4 separate regions of the Homo sapiens genome follow, and all the other regions are linked to region 4. The links are contacts of gene promoters, found by promoter capture Hi-C in human tissues and cell types (Jung and others, 2019). All regions are on one chromosome and are shown on one strand. The core of a region is centred on a gene start or on the middle of the fragment in contact, and the rest is flanking DNA. Distances in the headings are between cores, read along the strand shown. Region 1 overlaps LINC00390 (long intergenic non-protein coding RNA 390). Region 2 has its middle 3.5 kb from the start of MIR8079. Region 3 has its middle 11 kb from the start of SMIM2-AS1. Region 4 holds the start of SMIM2 (small integral membrane protein 2).

What was found. Contacts are between HindIII fragments. The study calls those that stand out against the background at their distance.
Region 1: a fragment that was not itself captured here is called in contact with the fragment with the promoter of SMIM2 in region 4 in 2 of the 25 tissues and cell types used here (spleen and thymus).
Region 2: a fragment that was not itself captured here is called in contact with the fragment with the promoter of SMIM2 in region 4 in 1 of the 25 tissues and cell types used here (bladder).
Region 3: a fragment that was not itself captured here is called in contact with the fragment with the promoter of SMIM2 in region 4 in 1 of the 25 tissues and cell types used here (aorta).

What each region holds. Positions count from the first base shown.
Region 1 is chr13:44,116,961-44,123,764 of GRCh38, forward strand. All of the region lies in intron 2 of LINC00390 (long intergenic non-protein coding RNA 390), which reads right to left. All of the region lies in intron 1 of SMIM2-AS1 (SMIM2 antisense RNA 1), which reads left to right. Among named protein-coding and RNA genes, the nearest start is that of SMIM2-AS1, 9.8 kb to the left of the region's middle. The HindIII fragment of the contact is 5,829 bases long and covers 1-4,202 here.
Region 2 is chr13:44,196,602-44,202,789 of GRCh38, forward strand. No RefSeq gene overlaps it. Among named protein-coding and RNA genes, the nearest start is that of MIR8079, 3.5 kb to the left of the region's middle. The HindIII fragment of the contact is 9,857 bases long and covers 1-6,188 here.
Region 3 is chr13:44,096,316-44,102,567 of GRCh38, forward strand. No RefSeq gene overlaps it. Among named protein-coding and RNA genes, the nearest start is that of SMIM2-AS1, 11 kb to the right of the region's middle. The HindIII fragment of the contact is 4,418 bases long and covers 2,296-6,252 here.
Region 4 is chr13:44,158,898-44,165,422 of GRCh38, forward strand. It overlaps SMIM2 (small integral membrane protein 2), which reads right to left and starts at 2,360. Exons shown (of 3, transcript NR_197392.1): 1 at 2,248-2,360; 2 at 1,706-2,034. RefSeq lists an enhancer at 292-1,491. The HindIII fragment of the contact is 7,742 bases long and covers 1-6,525 here.

The DNA.
Region 1 (6,804 bases), core at 38-2,537, 43 kb before region 4:
AATCATGTACTGTTTTCTACACTTGCTCAGCAGCAAGATCTCCTATGCACCTGGAACAGGGCTCTGTGCTAAACCACGTCAGCAGAAGTTGGCTGTGGGGATTGGGAAAGAGGATGGATGCCAAATGTCTAGCACGGTGGTGACAACAGGAGGTACTCAGTGAAGAGCATTCTCTCCCACCTCCCCACCCACCCGTAGAATTGTTACCAACAGCAGCCTGTAAACCACAAGGGGGACATCGAAGCTGACTTCCAGTAAACCAGGCTTGCTCAAAGTGGTTAAGAAAAAAAAAGGAACTTTTGCTTTAAACATAGCTTTAAGAAGAAAAGTTGTTTCTCTTTCAACTAATACAAATATATTTAATATTTGAGATGTTGGCTACATCCACCCTTAATATTATTTTGAAAAGTTCAAGCAGTAACAGACCACAAATTGAGAGATATGCAGGCTTCCTCAGATGTGTCAGCTCGATTACACTACTTACTCTGTGGACTTTCTGCTCAGAGATTAACTGTAACCGTTTCATTTCATTTCACACTTGCCCATTTAAAATGGTATGTCGCTGAGCTAATGCACTTAGCATAGCCATTTCCTGTTTGGTTTTCCTTTTCTATTTAAATACTGTAAAAGACATTGCACTATTCCCTGTGTGGGCTTTAATCAGTAAGTCTAATTTTATTGTGTAAATTACATAACCAGTGGCCTACAAAGGCATCTGCTTCTAGCCAGTTGTGTGACCTTAGGCAAGTTACTTATTTTCCTTGGTCTCAGGTCTTAGTTAAAAAAAACAGGATTAATAACGCCCCCACTGTTAAGAAAATTAATTGTTGGGAGGATTGAGATAATGTGCTTACATTTCTTAGCATACAGGCCCCTTCCCAGATTCTTGTAGGAAGGTAAGAGAGTAATAATTCAGATTCTGAATGTGCTAGAACTATTCTAAATGCTTTTTGCACATTTACTTAATCTTCTCAAGGACCTTGTGAGCTAGAAACTATGATTATTCTCATTTTACAGAAGAAGAAACTGGGACATAGAGAGATTAAGGAACTTGACCCCACACACAAGTAAGTGGGGTCAAGTTCATGCAGTTGGTTCCAGAGGCTGAATTCGTAGCTCTACGACCCTTGCCAAATGTAGGTTCCTAACATTAACATTTTTGGGTGATTCCATATGTCTGTGATTCATAAATTTTTGTGAGAGAAAGCCAACTTCTCTTTTAATATAGTCAAAGTGCTGGACAGAAGTTTAATAATTCTATTAGTATAGCCTCTTTTCCCAAGAATAATACTAGATTCAAACCAAGTCAGATAAATGGCTGCCCAGGCACCTTCCCCTTCTCTGCTAAATGTCCTCTTAATTTAACCAAAGTCTCAGAGAAAACCAAAATCTGTCCTTTGAGTTTCAAATGAATTGCCTCATATTCCCATCTGAGGGATGCTTGCACCCCTTTCTCCTCCTGGATTCTAGATGGAGAGGGAAGGTGTAGCTTTATATGCTGCCGGTCAAGTTCCAATTCTTTCCACAGAAATATTAAATCTATGTATAAATATGTGTATCCCCACGTTGTCCACTGTGGGCTTTCTCTAACATGTGGATCTGGATGTCAAAAATCCAATCCCTTCCCTTAATTTACACACACACACACACACACACACACACACACACGTCTTTATCTGTTCTGTTTTGTAATTTATATATACTTTAGATCCTTTGCTGAAGACTTGGATAAATAAAGGAGTTTATATGATACCAATTCCAACAAATTAAAACAATTTAAAATTGATGTTATATAATTTTTTTCCATCAACTGGGGCCTGTACCACGTGGTTCAACAATCTCCCCACTCTTCTACCCAGATTCTCACGAGTAAAAAAATAGTACACTTTCCTTTTTTTATGCACAGCAAGTCAACCCTGTCTTTGTCCTATCTTTTCCTTCCATAACTTTCCTTAGGCTTTTTTGCTCAACTCTTTGCATCAGGCTGGCTCATCAAGGTAGGAGAAATTCTGAAGCCAGCTGCTGAGATAGTCTGTTTTCTTAGATGGCATAAAGATTGTCCACAACTGGAATAAGTAATGCATCTCTGAGATTAACCAACCTTGACAGTTACATAGCAAGTTTCAACATCCCATTTTAATTCTCTCTCTTACAACTCAAGGCAACTGCCTCTTGTCCTTTGTTCAGAAACCCAGGGTGCAGGATTCATTAACCCTTAACTAATATTCCATTGTAGAGATTGTGGGCTTCTTGGTGTGAAAGCTGTTTTTAATTTTCTCCAACCCTTGAGGCCACTGACTGGAGGTGAGGAGACAGAAAGTGAGGCAAGAGAAGAGGTTACCTGGGAAGGCTCTCAGCACTATGGGGGTGGGAAAGAAAGAGCACTGATCAAAGGACAAAGGGGCAGACTTTAGGTGGCACCACTGGAGACGACTCAGAGAAGGGACCATGGCAGAGACAGGCTCAAAGCTTGACTTGTCTGGGAGCCCTGCGAGAATAATTTTCAATTTTCAGTAACTGAAAATTAGGTCCAAGTCTGCCCTGTTTTACGTTTTGCTAATGTGCAGCAAGCTGCCATTTTCTTTCCTCTATTCCTTTGATCTCATGATCAGCATTTCCAATTAATATTTGTTTAACACCAGGCCTGGGGTAGATATTTGGAGAATAGACTGAGAAGAAAATGCCCGCACCCTGCCCTGGAAACTTTCGGAGATGCCTGCTGATTGTTCTGGTACTGCTGTGCTCGTAACTTCAAAGCAAGTGCGACAGCCATTCTGCCCAGATTCAGTCCCAACCAGCTTCCTACTGGGGGAAGAAAGAACACAATAGGAATTAGTTAAATTTCCAGTTTTGCCAAATACATGGACTTTGGCACGCAATCAAAATGTTTTTATAAAAGTTAAAAATGCTTTATGAAAGTGTACACTTACAAAGTAGAAAGCTGTTCAGCCCTAGTCCTACCAGCCCTGGGAATGCAGACAGCCTGGTCCTGAAGGATGGTGGCCGGGGGCAGTAAGATCTTCCAGCAACACTTCAGAGTGGATGCCATCAGATGACGGCTTCTCCTCAGGGAAGCCATTTGCCATCAAACAAAAATATTTCCTTTCATTTAATTATGTGGATTTTTGCTAAATTAAATGCACTAAGAGGCTGGGATCCAACATTTACAAAGGAGAAATCTCAGACTCCTCTGGTTTCTGCTGGCCTGTGCTTTCTTGAAAACAGACACCGGGCAATGGAAAATGTGGTAAAAGTTTTAATGCTCATGCTAAAAGGAAAAACACCTTTCCTTTCCTTTCCTTTCCTTTACATTGGCCAGCCACGCCTGGCAAGGCAAAGACCAGCTGAGTGAAAAGTCATTTGTGCAAAATCCAGCCAAGCTGTCAGTTGAGCTTAGCAAGTAGTGACTTGGAAACAAAAAAATTAAGGGAAAGAAACTCATCTTCAGATATATTTTATTTTGGTGTTATATGACAAGGAGTAGATTGAATTCACCTTCAAACAAATGTTTTCGAGAAAATATCCCAAAACATACCATTTTAATTTATATTATATTAATGCTTGAAATGAAATGGGAGAAAATGAAAAGTAGTGAAAACCATTTTCCATAAAGTAGGATATATTTGCTCTAAAATTTCCTATGTGATGCTAGTCTTTTATGGAGCTGAAAAAAGGAGGAGGTAGAAAACAGGGACTCCTAACAATATCTATTAGTGTTTTCTCTAATTCAGCCACAGAGGGCTTTACATGTTGTTCTTTGCTTGATTCCAAAACATGTGTCCCCAGGTGGGAAAAGAAATCTGGTTGTAGGGAGAGGAGAAAATTCTACTGTTAGCTTTTCCACATGGCTTTATTAAAAAATCATTTTACTTTTTTTGGGAACAATTTTTATATATGAAAAATAGAAACATAGATGCTTCCTGACAGATCCCGATGGTCCCATGCCTTGAGACTGTACTCAGAAAGGTGAAGAGATAGAGATGTTTCTCTCTGCTCTCTGGCAAGTGGGGCAGTGCCACACAGTCACTGCCTCAGCACCACCACCTCCCTGTCCTAGCGCCCAGGGCAACTTAGGATGCTTCTGAATCTGTACATAACGCTGAAGTCTGCAAAAGCCTTCTCTAACATTAAATTCCCTTGTCAACTCTTAGGCCCCTTTAAACCGTGAACAAGACGACCCTTGTTCTGGAAAATCTATCTATCTTGCCAACACACACACATATACAAAAACACAACTGTTGGGCAAATAAATCTTTCCAGAGAAAATAGATTCTTTTCCAATTCAGTCAACTGTACTGAGCTGGAAAGCGAGAAATGTTATTTTTCCAGGATGAAGGAAAAACAAGATCTCTCCTTGTTTGCCCTGTCTAGCCCATTTCAAAAGAAGGTCAGTTTAATGCCTTCATTTAAAAAAAAAAAAAAAAATCTCAAGTGTTGTGTATCAGAAGACACTTAGTTCCTTTCAGGCTGGGAATCGCACATTGAGGCTCTGTGTTTTTTTCCCTTTGACCTAAGATACACATGGCAGGGCTGAATTGCCTACCGCTCTGGAGATGTCAAAAGTATCAGGAGTGGGAAGGACGGAGTCTGGTGATGTGGAATTCTTTGCTATTGGCCAGCCTCCTGATTGCCAGCCTGTGTCCCACTCCAGTCACTGAGCATGAAAGATGCAGCTTATGAATTGATCCCCATTTCATTCAAGGCCACACACATTCTCCATGCTTACTTCTCCATATTCCCCATAATTTGAGGGCCTGGATCATCCCCTTGGAGAGTGAGAAAACATGGAGTTATAATGTTCCTGGCTGAAGAGCATGGAATAGAATATAAATTAGACACAATGCTTGTCTATTCCCTGGGACGCTCTTTAGGACTTAAAATTCTAAGTCTCAAGGAAGTCCTAACTATAGCGACAGTAACTGGAGTCTGAGGATTCCAGCTTCCTTGTTCCTCGACGCAAATATAGGCTTCACATGTATAGCATGTAGCATATAGTTGATGCCCAGTAAAAATTTGTTTCTATTTTTTCACCAAAAAATTTCTATTTGCCATTAGATATGGCAGAAAAAAGGTAATAATTTCATATATTTTCATTTCTTCCAAGCATCATTAGTTCTTGTCTTACCCAATTTGTGGTTGCCATAAGGGTATGCAATTATGCATATTTATTCTCTGCCTCATCCCAAACCTATTCCAAACAGAATAGCCTAATATATGGCTGCTGGGTCACAGTGGCACATGAGCCAGAGCCAAATGGAAAAAAATGCAAAATATCTTATTAGTAACTATATTGATTACATGTTAACAAGATAATATTTTGTATATACTGGATTAAATTCAATATATCATTAAAATCAATTCGACCTATTTCTTTTTACTTTTTTAATATGGCTACTAGAAATTTAAAATTACGTATGTGGCCTGCACTATATTCCTATTAGATAGTGCTGGTGTAGACTACTCTATGAAATATAGAATTAATAAGGTAATAATTGAAGGTAAGGGCCTATGGTAATAACTAGCCTTTATGGCACATTTACTATGTCTGGCATTTTATATGATTTTATTTCATTCTAATTACATTTATGAAAGGTAATTATTATTAGCCCATTTGTTGAAAGTATTCTGCCCAAAATTTTATAGCATGCTAACAGAGCTGGTATTTAAAATCTGGGTTTCTGGCAGTAAAAAACATGAGCTTTACAATCTGAAATGATATCTCTTAAGTATTCTTTAAAAAAAAAATTCCCAAGAATGTTGACATCAGGTGACCTGGAAAAAATAGGAGTATCTGTTCCATTAGTTCCTAATTACGGCTTTAAAATTTTGATAATCTGAAAATCAGTGTTATATATTTTTTATTACTGAGAGGAATAGTAATAGAAACATTGGTCTCTAACCTATGAATTTAAACTGGAGAAAATTACAAATTAAGCTTCTGTCTTTCCTAAACACAGAAGAAAAGGGAAACTTATTTGATGGGAAAGAAGTTAATATTCATTGAGCACCTACTATTTCCATTCGTGTCCCATAAATGCATTATTCTTAACAGGTCCAAAATGGAAAACATCATCTTTTTTTTTTTTCTACAGTTTTTTTTTGTTTGTTTTTCTTTTTTTTTATTATATTTTAAGTTTTAGGGTACATGGCACAAGGTGCAGGTTTGTTACATATGTATAAATGTGCCATGTTGGTGTGCTGCACCCATTAACTCGTCATTTAACATTATGTATATCTCCTAATGCTATCCCTCCGCCCTCCCCAACCCCACAACAGGCCCTGGTGTGTGATGCTCCCCTTCCTGTGTCCAAGTGTTCTCATTGTTCAGTTCCCACCTATAAGTGAGAACATGCAGTGTTTGGGAAAACATCATCTTTATCCCCAAACCAGCTCCTCCTCATCCTCCATTCTCTATCTTAGGTACAGTCACCTGAATCTACCTTCTCACTTATGCCAGAAACCTCATTCTTTTCTCAGCTCCTCTCGTTTCTTTACCCTCCTTTCAATCTTGCCAGTTTATAGAACACAGGTATTCTTACTTTGCCTGAGCAGTACAGATTGTGCTTCCCTGTGGCTGTGCCAAGTTCTTATTCTTATCAGCAGAACATTTTCCCACATCCCCCAGCACATGGAGTTATTCAGCTTGCTAATGTTCTCCAAATAGGCATAAAATTATATCTCATTATTATATTAATTTGCTGAGGTACTTATGATTTGTTCGTTTTTTGGGGTTTATTGCTTTGTAAATTGCCTGTTCATATACTTTGCCCATTTCTGTAAATGAAGTTACTCTCTTTACCTTGT
Region 2 (6,188 bases), core at 421-2,920, 37 kb after region 4:
CTATCACTCTAAACCAAGCAGCGTTGTTGACTGCCCCTGGCCTGTGATTTGCCTGTGTTGCCTCCAGATCTTTTCCTGAGCTATTCTTCTGTGTTTTGAACACCTGTCCCATATCAGGAAATGAGCTGGGTTCTGGGAATACAGAGATTAAAACTTCAGTCTCTGATGCTCCTAGATTAGTGCAAGACAGCTGAAAGAGCAATAACAAAGTCCCATCACTATGGCAGGTGATTCAGAGGAAAGCCCAGGTTGCTATGGAAGCACCTAGGTCATCTACCTTCCCCATCTCCAATAACATCAGCCCTCAGAGCCTTCTCCGTCTGACCCGACTTACCTCTCCTGGGGGGCTTTCTGTGCCTGACGCTTCATCTGCTCCTCTCATTTATGCCAAATTTTCAGAATATATCTGTATTTGTTGATTTATTCATCTGCAACAATATATTTGCTGAACGTGCCTCCTCAACTGGTGAACTGTAATGGGGGAGGAGAAGACAAAAGAAGGCCAACTGGAAGAAATGAAAATGGTGTGTCTCCTTAAGGAGGTTGGATCCCAGAGAAGGAAGATAATGGGAGAGAGAGAGGTGTGGCTTTTGTTGGGCTTCCTCCTAACTATCCATTTTGGTGATGGCTGAGTGTGTCCTGAAGAGAAAGGATTACATGTAACTCAAACCTGATCCACAAAACTTCTGTAGTCCAAGCAACTTCGTGTGAGACCCTTTAAAAGAGCAGACCACAAAGTTAGGATGCAGTGGCTATACAGCCGAGCTGACCACTGAGCACAGGAGACAGAGCCTTGGAACTCTCAGAGATACTGGGGCGGGGAGGGGCTCGTATTGTGAAGGGAGGACCAAAGTCCCACAGGGGCATGCAGCTGGGCAAGCAAAATCTGGTCTGCAGTCGTCCGTCTCACTTGGGTCTAAGGCTAATGAGGCCTGGGGAACACTCACAAGGAGTCTAGTTATGGCTCTGTAGTAGTTTACCCATTGACTGAAGCAAAACAGTCTCCACAAGAGATCCCAGGAGAAACAGAACAGCTGGCCAGGCTCACCTAGCTGGTCCCATAACTTTTCCCACCATCCTGCCAGGCAAACCTTGTCATCTCAGCACCTGGATCCAAGACACTTTGCTGCCATGTTTCCTCACATCTCATCCTCTCTCCCTTCCTAGTCAGAATTCCACATTTGTCACTTTCTGACCTGCATTTGACAACACTCAATGTTGTCTTATCCAAACAACATCTATGATTCAGCCTTCTTGCCCTCAAGTCCAGCATGTTCCCCTCTGGCTCCAAGCCCCTTTCCCTCCAGCCTTTTACAACCACATCACTCCATGTAAGTCACTTGTCCTTTGAACCAGCTGATCTGTGGGCTGAGGAAAGGGTGCTGGGAGCTGAGCTGTAGATGTTCTCTTTGCTGTCTGTCATTCTAGGGGCTTGCCAACATTGGGCAGAGTCTCCTGCTGGCTGAAACTCTCTCACCACAAAGGATTTCATTTTATGTCAGCAGTTTCATAGGCTGAGGGAGTGATAGAGATAAGAGAAACATGAAGAGAATATGCCACAATGACTAAACTCAAGATAGATTTGGGGCAGAGATGTAGAGATTTGGTAAAAGTCCAGAAATCTAAATGCTGGGTGTGCTTACTAAGTGTACCTGTGCATTAAGCTAAGCAAATGGATTCCCTGTCTCCTTGACAACCAGAATACAAACATGTCTTACCTGAATTATCCATTCTCTTTGCCAAAGCCAGTGCATAATTAGTTGGGGAAAAATATACATGCAAGATGAAAGAGTCCACAGCTCTTAAACAATATCCCTCATTGCTCTCTGGTGGAGAGTTCACCTACTCAACCTCACTAACATCTCCCTTGCCTCATTTATCAGCCATGCCTTTCACTTACTGGTGAAAAGCTAATATAGCCTTGCTTCTCCCTCTCAGTCAACACTATTTAAGGGACTGATAAGAAAATTCACTAGGAAGGTTTTTCTGGAAAGCTCTCTATTTATAGAGACACACTGAAGTAGCCATAGACACCAACTGTTAAATTGCCTCCTCTGTGTGTGAAGGCCATGTTGTCACCATCTTAGACAAGGAGGAGATACCTTTCCTCCTCCTCATGGAGACCATGCTTCTATTTGCTCTCTCGGCATGCAACACCAGCCATCTCAGGGATTTGCCTAACAAGCTGGACTATTTCCAGGATATGGGAGGCAGCAGCCTCTAAATGCTTAGGGGTTTTAGGGGCACGGTCTCCTAAGACAAGCAGCAACCAGAGTAAAGAAGTCAGCCCTGAGAAGATAGAATCTCAGCCCTCAAGTCTGGAATGTTCCTTCCCCTATACCTATCCTCACCATCACAGCCCAGGGCTAATGGGTGGACTGTCAGCATGGGAGGACCATGCCCTGACACCCTCCTGGTGGGACACAAAGGGCCTGAAGGCTGCATTTAGAGCGAGTCATCACACTGAGCACACACACACACACCCCAGCCTTGTACCGCAGGGCAGAACCTCCCCAGGGGTGGAGGAGGAAAGGATGGGAGCCAAGTGGGTGACAGGAAGAGAATAAACATCAGGGTAGGGGCCCTGGGTCTTCAAAACAGTGTGAAGCAACAGGATGAATGAATTAAAGTGGATTGCGCTCCAAGGCCCCACACCTTGGTCGCTATGTCAGGTCTTTTCAGGATAAGTCTGAACACTGTGTGAAGAAGAGAAGGGGTGTGAACGTGTGTACGTGCAATAGGGTATGTACACCACTCCATGTGGATCCTGTGTGCATGTGCTGGTGCTTCTGGACGTGTACAAACCCATATGATGCTGCAAACTATACAAGCACACCACATGTTAGCCTAACCACAGAAGCATTGCCAAACCCAGTTCTAATGTGAAAAGCCTCTTCCAAGAGTTGACAGAAACCAAATTCAGGTTCACATTCTGGGCATCACTTAGCATAGCTGGGGAAGGAGGAGAGTTAAGTAATGAGATGCAATGGAGCAAAGAAGAATGTCTACCCATTGTCATCACCAACATCCTGGTGGGGAGGTCACTTGGTGAGGAAAAAATAGGACCCATTATGAATGAGTTGGGATTGGATTCCTGGTGGCCTTCCCAGAAAGCATTCTGCTGTCTTGTGAGAAGCAGGAACCAGAGACAGAGAGGCTGGCTGTGCAGATTCCTTCCAACCCTGCCAGCGGTGGCTTAGTGTGAGGTGCAGGTGGATTTCTTGACAGGGATACATATCTTGGAAGTGGTAACAGATTTATGGCAACTAATTGCACAATAATAGCTGGCCCGAACAGAGCTCTTGAGCAATTGCCAGAACTCTATATTACTACTATTCATTTACATAACAAACATTTTACACCTACTTATTGAGAATAACTAACCTTTATTGAAGGTCACATGCTGTTCTGAGCTCTACATATCTATTAATATCCACAATGACTCTATGAAGTGGGTACTGTTGTTACCACTCACATTCTACAGAGGAGGAAACTGAGGCATAGTGAGCTTAAGTAAGTTCCCCAAAGTCTCTCACTGTATGCAAAAGCCAGGGTTAGAACATAGGAAATTTTATTCCAAATCCCACACTTTTAGTCAGTAAACATATCTGCTTCCTATATTTACTTTTGTACAAAGCTAGTACAAATACTAGGCATTTGAAAGAAGCTAAAATATCATGATCCCTACCTTTAAAGGAGTTTATAGTCTTGGGGGAGAAACAGACAGTGCTGCTTTCTGACTTAAGCAAATTCAGCCTTTCAGAAAATTTCAGGTTCTTTTTACAACTACTATTAACCTCTTGAGGTTAGAGACTTCTGGGGAACTATAAATCCCTTCCCTATGACCTCAAAAATGTCTAATTGAACTCCATATGACATATAGATGCATATTGGCAAGGAAGCACAAATACACTCATTCAACTTGTTCGGCAGTTTGGGGAAGACCCACTCTGGCCTAGCCACTCCAGCAAGCACCATGCATTGAAGACTCCAGCTGGGGCAGATGTCGTGATAGTTCTAGGACAGCACTGGACAGTTCTGGGTGGGATCAGGCAAGAGGGTCCTCTGTGAAGGAAGGGACAGAGGGTCATGGGCTGACTGTGGTTCTAGGTTTACCACCTTATTGTGCCTTGTTCATAAAGGAGAGCAAAGCAATATTTCTAACTACTCCCAGTCTTGACAATATTCATATTACCAAAGAAGTGATTTCACTGAAGATGTGGGGAATGCTAAATAACGCCCCTGCAGATTCTGGTTCATGATCAGGCTCCTCATGGGCTGGCTCACCACCCTGGAGTGTTGCTTCTGATTTGGTGCTTAGGCCTCCTGTTTTACAGGTCCCACCTGATTACCTCCATGTGTCCAAAATCAGCACCATTGAGTCATTTTGTTCTCGTATGCCTTCCCCAAATGGTACTTTGTTGTTCCAAATTAAAATAATTGGCTGGGCGCAGTGGCTCACACCTATAATCCCAGCAATTTGGGAGGCCAAAGTGAGAGGATCACTTGAGCCCAGGAGTTCGAGATCAGCCTGGCTAATACAGTGAGAACTCGTCTCTACAAAAAATTTAAAAATCAGCTGGGCGTGGTGGTGTGCACCTGCAGTCCCAGCTACCCTGAAGTCTGAAGCAGGAGGATCGCTTGAGCCCAGAAGGCCAAAGTTGCAGGGAGCCATGAACACACCACTGCACTCCAACCTGGGCAACAGAGCAAGACCCTGTCTCAAATAAAACTGAAAAATATAAAATAGAATAACAGAGAACATCCCATAATATAAGAAACATTGTAAGGACCTGAGTGTAAGGCAAAGCTGTCTATATCAAAGGATACTTTGGGGGAAAATATGCCTTATATTTGTTTGCTTACTGTCATAGAAGAGCACCTAGTTTGTGCCTGACACAAAGCAGGTACTCAATAAATGTGAGTTTTCTTCTCTCCCTCACTATCTCACTTGGTTTTCATGGAAGACACTATGAGGAAGCTGTTATATTTATTTTACAGACAAGAAAACAAAAGTTTAGAGTTTAAGTAACTTATCTAGTTCATGTGACTACAAAGCGGCCACTCTGGCTTCTAACTGGAGCACCCATGCTCTTCCTACTATGGATACTGCCTCTCTGATAATCATAGCTGAGCTTTGCAGATGTGCACTGACAAAGCCCTTCCACATGCCCTGTGTCACTGGATCCTCAGAACACTCCTGTAACATGAGAATCATTATTTTCTTCAATTTTAAGTGAATGAAGCACCATGGGGAATTATAGCAATCTGCCCAGGTTTTCTAAGGTAGCAAATGGGTCCATCAGAATTTGAGCCCATGTTTTAAACATTGCCCAAATCTTTGCTTCTGGTACCACACTACGTGGCATCTCAGCGTGACACCCAAGGACGGCCAAAGGGTGAGCATAAACTGAGGGCTGGGGATCTGGTTCACAATCCAACTTGCTCATCAGTTTCAGAGCAGCCCTTAAATCCTACCTCAGCTCCATGGAGAGGCCACTTTTAATAATTATACCAACATTTTCATTACATGTTATTGTTTACAAAATACCTATCTCATGTTCTCATTTTGAATGCAGAGTCACTGCATTCAAACACAGAACAGTAAGGTGACGATATTTTTCAAGCTGGCTAGGCCCATCCCTAACAATATTCTTAGATGCCGAATCAATTTCCACATCCTCAAGGCCACTTTCCTAAGTGACACTGAGTTTTCTTGCTTCACTTCATCTCCTTGAAGTTACCTTGATCCTCTAGGTATAATTTTCTTGATCCTTTAAAAACAGATTTGCTGTATCATGATTATACAAACAGTATATGCCTTTTGAAAATAATTTGGGAAATATCATTTGACCCAGTCATCCCATTACTGGGTATATGCCCAAAGGAATATAAATCATGCTGCTATAAAGACACATGCACACGTATGTTTATTGCAGCACTACTCACAATAGCAAAGACTTGGAACCAACCCAAATGTCCAACAACCATACACTGGATTAAGAAAATGTGGCACATATACACCATGAAATACTATGCAGCCATAAAAAATGATGAGTTCATGTTCTTTGTAGGGACATGGATGAAGCTGGAAACCATCATTCTCAGCAAATTATCGCAAGGACAAAAAAACCAAACACCGCATGTTCTCAGTCATAGGTGGGAATTGAACAATGAGAACACTTGGA
Region 3 (6,252 bases), core at 3,255-5,754, 60 kb before region 4:
TGAAAATGACAGTGAAAAATAGCTGTCCATTAACACAAAAGCAAAATGTAATGCAGTAATGATGCTTGAAGCTTCCTGCAATGTTAGAGTTTTTAGAAATCATTAATAATAAATTACCAGCAATGCAACGGGCAGCTGATAACTCCTTTCTTTGGTAGGTAAAACTCTCCATTATAAAATAATAATACACTAAGTCATACGCCATAGCCTTCAGCAATTTTCTTAAAGTTATTTTACTTTAAGACCAGTGTTGCCAACATTGAATTCATTTTACAGATAAGGAAACTGAGGCTATTTTACCCAATGATAATGTCGGAATGAGTCAGACTATTGTAATTGAAATCACTAGCTTAGTTCCAGATTTAAATTAAGGCCTCTCACATATTTGTAAATGTGACAGGCACCAGTAGAGATCATTGGTTAATGAGTGGAGGTTGGAGTGGAGATAGGGTTCCATTAATCACAAACTCTAGGCCATAGTTCTCAATGTGTGGTTTGGGGCCATATGAGGAGTAAGAAAATGTACTCTTGGAGGAAAGGAAACAAACACAAAGCTTGCAAACAGGATGGCAAAACACTCTCGAGTCAAAGACCCTTGTTTATCAGCTCAAGGGCTCAATATTCAGTTATCAGTGTGTAGCAGGGTCCAAGGCATGCAGCAAGTCCAAACATGCTCTGAGATGCTTCTCTCCTCTCATTTCCCTTAGTTCCATTCAGCAATTATCCAAGAACCTGATGGCTTCCTCTTTATGACAGAGTCTGCAAGAATACAAAAAGGAAATAAAAATGGCCATCCAATTCACAGAGCCCACATCCAATTTCCAGAGCCCACAAAGAGGAACTTCATGAAGGATAGTTCTGTCTGGTGCTATCATCCAAGACTTTATCTTTGTAATATGTGAAATCAGTCTGTTAGATAAAGATTAGCTCACACACTCAGTTTTTTTTCTGAAGAAGAACTTGTAGGAAGGTGAATTCTAAAATACAAATTGTGTGACTTTTGGCAGGACACTTCCCTCTGTGCCTTTGCTTCCTTATAGATAATGGGAGGTGGAAGGATTAAAATAAGTCAGGATCCTAAATCACTGGCCCACCAGAGAGCAGTGGCTTAAGCACAATAGCTTAAGTTCCTCCCTGCTTCAAAATTTGTTGGTGCTTTTATGTTAAGCAGCATTGATATTAAGCAGTCATGGTTCATTGTTCCACCCAGTTCTAGGCTAGATATATATAGCCTGATACTTTATAGACTTCTAAGGGATGATCCTCAAACACATCAGAAATATAAGAAACCATAGAAATAAGTTCCTGAACATCTACCACTGCTTACGAAATAGTTGTAAATCATTTGTCTCCAACTATATTCTTCATATAGTTATAAAATTCAGGACTCTATTCCAAGTGAGGAAGCAGATCTTCTCTTCAGTTCTGCAACTGTTGAAACTTTAGGTAGACTCAATAATAATGACTTAGGGCAAAACCTTAAAATTCAAGCTCTTTTAAGGAAGAACACATAATTTTAACCACATAAACAATCTTACAATCCTCATTCAGATCAGATACCATAACACTTTCTTATCAGACCTTAATGAATAGAAATGCAATTTCTTATAACTTAAATTCTGAAAGAATTACGTGACATGAGACAGAAGAAGGAAAAATGTATTGAACAAAAAAAGCCTGATACATCCTCATAAAGTTATTGGTCAATATTCCAAAAAATAGAGAAATAATCATTAATATATGCCTTTTTTTTCTGGATATAAATAGACTTCACTTCAGGCTGTCATCTTCACTGTGTTCTTTTTTTTTTTTTTTGAGATGGAGTCTTGCTCTGCTGCCCAGGCTGGAGTGCAGTGGTGCAATCTCAGCTCACTGCAACCTCCACCTCCGAGATTCAAGCAATTCTCCTGCCCCAGCCTCCCGAGTAGCTGGGATTACAGGCATGCACCACATGCCTGGCTAATTTTTGTATTTTTAGTAGAGATGGGGCTTCACCATGTTGGTCAGGCTGGTCGCGAACTCCTGACCTCGTGATACACCCGCCTCAGCCTCCCAAAGTGCTGGGATTACAGGCATGAACCACTGTGCCCGGCCGACTGTGTTCTTTCTTATGTAAAGAATTTCAAAATGACCTGCCAACAGGGTCCCAACCAGCCGGAACAAAAGAAATGGCATCACCCACCCTGGTGTTCTAACAAGAAATTGCTTTGGAAGAGCTGATTGGCCTCTGTTTTCATATGACACCTGATTCATATCCTTGACAGAATTAATTTTCAATGAAAGGAGAGCTCATTACTAATTCATTGAAATGGCCCTGTGCATTGAGAGCCAATTCTCCTAAACTTGACTTGAACATCCTTGTGTGGCATCGTCCAGGAAAACAATCTTGCCTCCTTGAATGGCCTTTAACACCTAGAGCCAGGAAAATTCCCTGACACATTTAGACTCTGACTGGGGTCAATGTTCAGCACCCCACAAGCACTCCTAGGGATAGTGACACATTTTCCATCTTCTCTCTTGTTTCCATTACTCCCTGGGAAGGTTCACATTAGGCAAGCATCAATATTTTGATGCAGTGACATGATAAATATCCACGGTCAAGGCTTGCAATTGCATTTTTGAAATGTCAGACAGAAGGGAGTAAAACAAGCAAATAAAACCAACCAAAAACACCACAAAGAGAAAATATATTAAGTGTCTTGAGAGATGTCCTATAGAACAATCCCTTACAGAAAAAAAAAAGAAAAACCTCAATCTCAACATGTCTAAAACTGAATTTATTATTTTCCCTCCAAAACCCGGTCTGTGTTTCTTAGAGAATGGCATCACTGTTAAACCCACTTGTACAACCAAAGAACTAAAAAGACATCCTTGATGACTCCCTTGCCCTCAGCCACCATGTAGAATTCTTCACCAACGCCTGTTGATTTTACCCCTTAAATATCTCTTGACTCTGACTCCTCTCCATCTCCACTGTCATCACTATCATCCTTCATCTCTAGTCACTGGTTGTGTTAGGTCATTCTTACACTGCTATAAAGAAGTATCTGAGACTGGGTAATTCATAAGAAAAGAAGTTTAATTAGCTCACAGTTCTGCAGGCTCTACAGGAAACATAGCAGCATCTGCTTCTGGGGAGGCCTCAGGAACAATCCAATCATGGCAGAAGGCAAAAGGGGAGCAGGCACATCAAATGGTGAGAACAGGAGAGAGAGAGAGGTACGGGGGAGGTGACACACTTTTAAATGACCAGATCTCACAAAAACTCACTACTACAAAGACAGTACCAAGACATGGGGGATCTGCCCCCATGATCCATCTGCCCCCATGATCTCCCACCAGGTCCCCACCTCCAGTGCTGGGGATTACAATTCAACATGAGATTTGGGTGGGGACAAATATCCAAACTATATCACTGGTAAAAACTGCTGGATTGTCTAGCCTCCTCTGTTAACTCTGATCTTCTACAATTTATTCTTATGCCACAGCTAGAATAATCTTTTTCAAACATAAATCCAATAGTAATATTGCTTTCTGGATAAAGTCCAAGATCTGTACATGACTGACAAAATTCTGAATGTTCTGGCCTGACCCACGTCTTCAGCTTGACTTTGAGCTACTTCTCTTCATACACTGTGATCCACTGTGCTTTAGTCACTTGGACCTCCTTCCAGTTCTTCAAACTCATATGTTTACTTCCAACCACAGCATCTTTGAGGATGACATGTGCCCAATGTCTAATGCTCTTTGGTTCACACTTCTTCTTCCATTCACCTAATTAGCCATTATTCATCCTTCAGAGCTGAGATCAAGTGTCACCCTCTCAGAAAGGCCTTTCTTGATTCCCTCAGTCCAGCCATGTTCATTGTCATAAAACTGTCTTCCTTTACTTCAGAGCAAACAGCTAATGTGCAATTTTACATTCATTCATCCTTTAATCTATTGTAAGTTCAATATAGGTGGGGACTATGTCTGACTTTTTTTTTTAATCATTGTTTGTTTATTCTACCAGTTTCAGTGAGAAATATGTTTAAAAGCTTCCATTGTGATTGTGAATTTTCCTATTTCTGCTTTAATTGTATCTTTTTTTATACATTCTGAAGCTACACGATAAAACACACAAATTTAAGCCTATTTGATCATCCTAGTGGATTTTCACTTTTACAGAGGGTCCTTCTTGACTTGCAATTTACTTTGTTTTAATATTAGTATAACTATGGCAGCTTTCTTTTAGTTAGGGTTTGTATGGTGTATCTCTCTCCATTATTTCACTTTTTTTTCTGTATCTTGTATTCAAGATGCTTCTCTTGTAAGCATTGCATTATTGGGTCTTGTTACATTTTAATACAGTCTGACAATATAAATGTTAAGAATTATTTACATTTAATATAATTGCTGAAACCCTTGGGGTTTTTTATGTTATTTTTTCCAATTTGTTTCATCTGTTCTACATTTTTTCCTTTACTTTCTTTTGAGTTAATCAAATTTGTTTTGCTATGCCATTTTTTCACATCTTGGCAGTTATAAATAATCTTTTTACATACTTTCAAAGGTTATGTTAGAGATTCAACATGCATTCTGCTTTGGTTAAAGTATAATACAAATTTGTACTTTTATCAATTTCTGTACAATTGAAGCATATTTGAACATTTTGACTTTATCTTCTTTCTGCCTTTTAGGCTATCATTGTCATGTATTTTAAATCTACATATTAAAAATTTAAAACCTTTATTATTAGTAGTATTGGCTTATACAGTCAATATTTATTTAGATTTACTTACATATTTATCTTTCTTTTACTATTCATTTTTTGCTACAATTTTTTGCTGTCATTTAGCATCACTTTTCTTCTGCCTGAAAAACTCCCTTGTGTATTTCCTTTAGAGCAGGCATTAGTGACAAATTCTTCCGGAAAATACAGTGTTCAAGGCTGTGGGTCCAGCTACAATTTTGCTGGAAACACAGAGAACAGAGGACTTGTTGGGCTATATTCTATGATTATGAGATTAATGAAATCTAGACTTCAGGAAATTCTATAGGTCAAACAGCCTTAGATTTTCAACAGATAAAGTCTGAGGAGAAGAAAGGAATAGAAGGAGGTGCAGTGGATTAAAAGAGATTTATATATCAAACATTTTTTAATGGGCAATTCTAGACTATAGTGTCTAGGGATGCATATGTGGGTAATAAAGCTATAAACACAAGAAAGAGATTACAATAAAAGTGTAAAGGTTGCTTCTAGGGAAGGTGGTGCATTGTGATCAGGATAGCACACAAGGAACATTTCCAAGTGGCTGGAAAAGTTCTATTTCTTTATGGCAGTTACAAGAGTGTCTGCCTTAAAATAATTTATTAAGCTATACATTTGTTTTGAGTGGTTTCTGTCTTTGTGTTTTTTTATTTTACAATAAAAATATACAAAGTAAAAAATGAATTAGAAATTAGTAAAATTTCAGCTTCAGTATTTTTATTATCTTACTTTGGCAGGGATATTTTACAGTTTAGGATGACCTACCATTGTCTTTTGCATCCATAATTTTGGTTAAGAATTCAGCTGTCAGCCTTACTGTTCTTAAAGATAATGTGTCCTTTTTCCTCTAGCTATTAACATTTTATCTTTGTCTTTGGTTTTCAACAATTTTATTACTGTGCACGCTGCTGAAGTTTATTTGTATTTGTCTATCATTGGATTCATAGTGTTTCTTATAACTGTGAATTCAAATATTGCTTCTACCCATTCTTTCTTTTTTCCTCTTTCTGACATTACGATGTCCTAAATATCTCTTACTGTCTTTTTATCTTGTTTGACTCTCTTTTCCTCTCTGTGGTTCAGTCTAGATATTTTCTACTGACCTATATTCTAGTTCATTATTTCTTTCTTCAGCTATGTTCAGTCTGCTCCTAATTAATTTCTTGAATTTAAATTTTATTTATTGTGTTTCAGTTCTAGAATTTCCTTCTTATTCTTTTTTATAGATTTTAGTTTTCCGTTGAAATTCTCCATCTCATCAACAACTTTCATTCATATATTTAATAAAGTATTTAAACTCTGTGTCTGATAACTCCAGGATCGATATAGTATCTAGATCCCCTGTGGATCTCTTTCTATTGTCTCCAAATGATTTTTGGTCACTTGGCTTATCTCCTTGTATTCTAGAATATTTTTAAAAAGAATGCTGGGCTTTATTCTTTGAAAAATTATAGAGATTATTTGAAGTTCTGGATGATGTTATCTTTCTTCCTAGAGGTTAA
Region 4 (6,525 bases), core at 1,110-3,609:
AATGAATTCCCACGTAAACCTAAAGAATGCTGATGGAGAGAAGCCACTGCTCATTCTTCTTTTTAAGCCAAATAATATCCTTCTGCCGGAACAAAGTTGTTCTTGGCACTTGGAAGTAAATGTGAGGAGGGAATCAAAACACAACGCCTGAGAGACAAATCCATAAGAAATCTGAAGGCCAGGACGTGGTGAAAAGTAATAAAGATAGAAGGGTCAGTGGCAGGAACAAAGATTAACTGTACCAGAGGAGATGGCGCTTTGGCTCTGAAAATAGGATTGAGCGAAAGCCGGAAGTGCTGCAGAGACGCACGTGTCCTTCGTTTCCACCCTGAAGGCTCAAAGGAAGGCCGCTGCCCAGCCACGCGGAGGCTGCAGGACAGGGTTCTGGAAGCTGGGGCCTCCTTGCCCTAATCCTGGAAGGATATTCCACATCTAAATCACCGAAGCTTCATCCTGTGATGCAGAAGCTCTCCCCTTGTGAACAACCAACACAGGAAGTAGTGAAACCTGGTAGAGAGAATATTATCTTTCTCCACCTTCAATTATACCAGAACTGCCTCCAGGGACTTTGGCAGGTTTGACAAATGGCAGAAGAATTTAGAAGATTTTCTTTGCTGGCAAAGGGAGCCAATGGTTGGGCACAAATGTGCTGCTGCGGTTGTTTGTACAATGAAACTCTAGATTGTAGGCAGAAATGTCAGGTTCCTTTCAACTCTCTTCAGAGCTAATCTAGTTCCCATGTGCAAACTCAATCTATAGCATTTGGGTAAAGAATACTCAGTCCTCTGCTGTGACAAGAACAAATTCATCACCCACACCATACATTGTAGCTAAGGGCATCATCGTGCCCACATGAATCACCAGGCAGAGACGGCTGCCAACTCTGAAATTCTTTACTCATGGAAGACTCACGTATACTAATGCCGACTATTTACGCAAGCACATTTCTCCAGGTGGCCTGGAGCAGTTTACAAGATGCTGGCTCATTCCTCATCATGCCACTTGGAAGGAGAGCAAAAGGTGGGGAAAGAGGAAGGGCCAACATCATCATCTGCATTTTATGTGGGGAAACTGAGGCTCACATAAGCCGTAAAGTGAAATGTATAGACATTTATGAGTCAGAAATCGACCATGGAAGAGGCAAAATGAGCTTATCTGAATCATGAGTGGACTATTTCTTGCCCAACAATTTCATGCAGCTCTTCCAACACAACTGTTTTGATACAGCAGCCTCAAAACAAGCCAAAATTCAGACTCGCTGTATTTGGTTTATAACCAGTTTCCCATCTTTCATTCCTTCTCTGACTTCTACCTGACTTCTGAATTTGGTTGACCCTGTTTTTTTGTTTGTTTGTTTGTTTTGTTTTACTTTAAAAGACCCTCAACCCTCCTGGAGTCCTGACCTGCTATTTCTTTCATTTTGAACCTCTACCAGTCCTTTCCTTCATCTGTTACCAATCCATACACCCTTGATGCCTGGAGGTAAGATTGACAATGGAGGGGGGGAGGTGAAGATCAAGGTTGAGGTGAAGCTCACAGATGGCCTGCAAGATGCCTATTTTACTCATCATTTATTTTTTAAAAAGCTGAACATTTATCGGCTGAATCTTTGAGCCATACCAAAATATCCTCATGTCAAAATAGCTGCAGTAAAGTGGTTCTATTAAAATAGCTGCCTCCAAAGAACTGAGAGTGGAGATGTCACCTGCTTCTGGCACCTGACTTTGGTCCTCTTCTGCGTGGCATTGCCTTCTGCTCTGCTGGATTCTGGCGTATGGCTCATCAGAGGAGGCACTAACATCAGGGCTGCCTTTTATCTTGCTGATCCAAGCGAGGACTATGTAGGTGTCACAGATGAAACTCGTCCAGAAGCCGAACAGGATGCTAATGGCATGGCCACGTGTTTCCAGCACCCTGTGAGGCAGCTGGCTGGCATCAATCCTCTCCCCAGCTTCCATCCCACCCCCATCCACCCATAAGCTCTTCTTGGGTCAGAAATGCAATTCTTTGATGGTGCCAGACAGCCAGATGATGCTGGAAAGAAGAAAGAAAAAGAAAAAGCAGGTTTCTAAATTAAGCACAAGGCTCGTTTATAAAAATAAATAGCCACAGCCTAGCAACGTGCTCACAGCTCAGCTTTCCTCCGTAATAAAACCTCTGTGGCTGAAGCCTGGGATGACACAGCCTTCAGAGGGCCCCACGCCCTGGCCCTCCTCATGCCCTGGCCTCTCCCAGGATAATACTCACCTGGAGAGTGCTGACAGTGGTACTTTTGGGGCCCCACTCTTCATTCAAGGCCAACCAAAGGCCAGGCTCCAAAAAGCAGAAGGAAGGCAGAGCTTAATGAGGCCCATGAACACTTACAGACTCTTGGCAGTAACTAATACACCTGTAGCAAAAGTGGTTGAAGTTCCTTGGGCTACTCTGTTGAAATAGGAACTTCTAGTTAAGACCATGTCTTCTTTGTTCACCATTGAACAGTACTCAGCTAAGCACAGGGCACGTATTGAGTACTCAACCAGTATGTGAGGAAAGACTGGTTAGAGGTATAAATGAATGAATGAATGTTGCCATCCCATTATTGATGCTCTCCAAACTCTTCACTACAAATGGAGTCAGTTCCAGAATCCAAAGCCAGCATTCTTCTCCTGATTATGACATGCACCAAAGAGGCATCCCCTGAGCTGGATGTTTAAATCAGAGCCCACAGCTGAAGTGAGCACCAAGATGTACTGAGCAAGTGTGGACTCTTACTGATCCAAGTGGTGAGGCTCTTACAATGGGCAAGGGCAGAGGGCATGCGATATGTAGGTAACTATTGTTAGCATTCCTGAATCTTCTCCTGTTCTTTAGGCAGCAGCAGCTTCAAGGGTGAACTGTTGCTCAGCAGAGAAATGGCAGGAAAAAATAGGACATTCGCTTCTGGCCTTAGTCCTGTTGGAACACAAAAAGTGGAGTCTGCAATGCTGTTGGAGGCTCAACAGGTCAAATACATCAGTAATGGGCATGGTATGGCTGGGGTCATACGGAGACAGTCCTTAGAGCACTGAAAATGTGATCATCCTGAATCCCATAAGGATCCTTATGAGGTTAGAAGGGACAATGTGGCTCCACTTTGATGACTGACAGCAGTTGCTTTGGTGAGTTTCTACGTATTCCCTTGTGATCAGAGAGTGGTACAGGACAGCATGTCAAAATCGTAAACCACCATCTCAGAGCAAGGCCCCTTAGTTACAATATTAAAAAGATCAGAGAAATTGGCACATAGCATCATTTAGAAATCTGTCTTCAGGCATCTTTGTCTGGCCTGGCTGGAAATAGTAAAACCATATTTATGTCATTGAGAAAAAGGTTCTTAATTAAATTCAAATGTATAAGAATATATCGTAGGTCTATTTTTGGAACAATAATCTGGGAACAAAAAAAAATCTAAACAGCAACAAAACTTGTACAATAGCATTTAGCTTCAGACAGCAGCATACAATAGAGAAGAAGGAGTCCTCATAGACTCTGGACTCTTAGATTGATTCAATCCCACAAGCTAGAGCACCAAAGTCATGGCACTGGGACATTTAGGAAGAGGAACTCTAGCAGTGACCTGATTAGGAGACAGCTCCAGCAGAGAGTCAGCACATAGACTGGCCAAGCTGCCCCCAGATCTTTGGTGATATCTCTTTGGTGGAGATAAAGGAAGCCCTTTCCAAAGCAGACCAATTATGGCATCCACAACCATAGTCCCTGCTCCAGCCTAGTGAGGACACAGTATGTTCCATAAGTCCCTAAGGCTCTATGCCCAGGGCTCCCACTTCTGACACGGCTGCTCAAGGATAAGACCCCACTGACCCCATTCTCTATGGAGGGTACAGAAATCCATAAGAACAGAGCCCAATACTCAGCTCTGTGACCTTAACTACTTGGAAACTGATTTTCTTTGTTCATAAAATAGAGAGAGTAAAAATAATGCTTTCTATCTCCCAAGAGTGTACGAGGATCAAATGAAACACTATTATGTTCAAGTGCTTCCCAGTCTGCAAGCTATTGTTCCATGTGACCATGTTTTATAAAATGTAAAGGTATACAGTGAGAAGTTTGCTTCTGATGTGAGGATTGAGACTTCCTTTGTCACAAACTTTTAGGGTGCTGTCTGGTTCCATCTTATTCATAATACTATTTTTTTTTCAGAGACCCCTAGCCATTTCCTTGGCTTCAAATACCAAAGACCTAGCATTTCAAAATTGTGTTTCTGTAACTGCTTCTTTCCTCTTACAATCCCTCAGAAAGTGCTGCAATTCTAGAATGCATGAGGAACCTTGGGGCTCACAAAGTCCACCACTTCACTTTGCAGATGTACACACAGAGGCACAGAAAGTTTAGGCACTTGTCCAAGGTCACGTGTGGAGTTTCACTCACCCTATCCTCAGCTTCTCCCACAGCCTGCCAGTGTCTGCCCTCCAGTGGGTCTTTGAGGGCCACAATTCAGATTCCACTCTTCCGCAGCTGGGACATCCATCTTCTGCCCTCGGACATCAGAGCTCCTTGTCCTCAGGCCTTCAGACTCCAGGGTTTACACCAGCAGCATTCCCCCGCTGGTTCTCAGGCCTTTGGTCTTGGACTGAATTACACTATCAGCTTTCTTGGGTCTCCAGCTTGCAGGTGGCATATTGTCACTCCATAATTGCATGAGCCAATTTCTATAATAAATCCCTTCTTAGATAGATAGATAGATAGATAGATAGATAGATAGATAGATAGACAGATGGTAGATAGTAGATGCATACATACATACATACATACATACATATCCTATTGGTTCACTTTCTCTGGAGAACCTTGACTGATACAGATTTTGGTGCTACACTCCCTCAATACTGACCATATTTTCCCACTTTTAAGTGAGTAATTGTTACTTAAGCTAGGTGTGTTATTTAGGATGTGAGGGATGGGGAGCCGGAGGATGGTAGACAGTTGAGGGCAAGTGGATTAAAGCATGGCAGTAATGGGAACAGGCACCTCTGTGATCATGATGCCTCATCTTAGATTATACCTTTGGAATTTGCCTTTTGTTTTTGAAAAAATAAATATATAACCATTTCATTTTTGTAGTTATTCGTAATAATTTGCTTCCTCACAGAAATGGCAGAATACATTCATGCAAAGCATATAAATGCACCCAAGTTGTTGTTGAGTTGTTTTAAAAGAATGTATTAAGAAGTAGGATTTGTTAAGTGACAATTCTTCTACCATCGGCCCACCTTCCTCTCTGCAGATGACCTTGTATCTACCCAGTAAAGAAAATATGAGGTTATTTTGTGTGAAACACCCCCATCACCCCTACACCTACCTATCCATATGAAGCCAAATTCTCCTCCTCCTTCCCTCCTCCCCAAACCACCTACTCATACAAAGAAGGGTCTTTCTTTCTGTCTGTAATTACAAATCTACATGTGTGTTAGACCTACGGTGACCAATGATCCTGGCTTACTCAGGACTGAGGAGATTTCTGGGACACAAGACTTTCAGTGTTAAAATCAGGAATATTCCTGGCAGACTGAGACAAGCTGGTCACCCTGGTAGGCCCCATACCTCACCCAGGGACCTTTCTAAACAAACCACGATTGAATGAATTGATACTAAATAGCAGCAAATTGCTATGTGAGATTGGTGGTCAGGAAGATAACTAGAAGGGATGAATGAATGAAATGTAGTGATTTTTTTTTAATTAAAACCTTCATGAATATGTTGGGAAAAACCCGGAGGAGGATATCCTATTATCTAGACGAGCAGAAGAACAGAAAAGTTACACTAAAGAATTTATATAGAGATGTAGATCCCATTCACTTGATGGTTAAGTCAGGGCAATCCATATTACATAGGAAACAGACCATAGTATTGCTTCACAACTTTCTAACTTCCTGTCATACATTTGTTAAAAATTATAACATCTGCTACATAGGTTAAGTTGAAAGGAGAATCTTCTTATGGCCACACGTGACCACCTGAGTGGCCTCATGACCACTGAAACTACCTAGACTCCTGAGGACTGAGAGGGTCAGTATTTCAGCTCACATGTGACCCACTGACTACATACCACTATGTGGCTGGTTGGGAATCTTTGAACTATAGGATTATAGCACTGTGGCCTAAACAGGCAGGTCTAGACTCTACTCCATCACAAATCTGAAATCTTGACCCACATTCTCCACACTCTCTTCAAAGAATGTTAAACTAATAGTATTAATTTTTGTACACAAAAAATGCTTAAAACTATCACATATTAATCATTCAATAAATGCCAATGGTTTTCCCCCAACACATACACTTACACAGGTAGCTTTACTGTTTTTCTTACCTTCATGGTCCCATGAGCATAACTGCTAGTCTAGATAATTAAACTAAATGAGTGTGGCAACTGTGATACTTCAAGTCACTAGGAATAGCTTAAGTCCACATCCTTTCCTGGGTTGACTGATCGCCATCCCAGCATGACACATGTCCCTTCTCTGTCTCTGAGTTCCTTCCTCATCT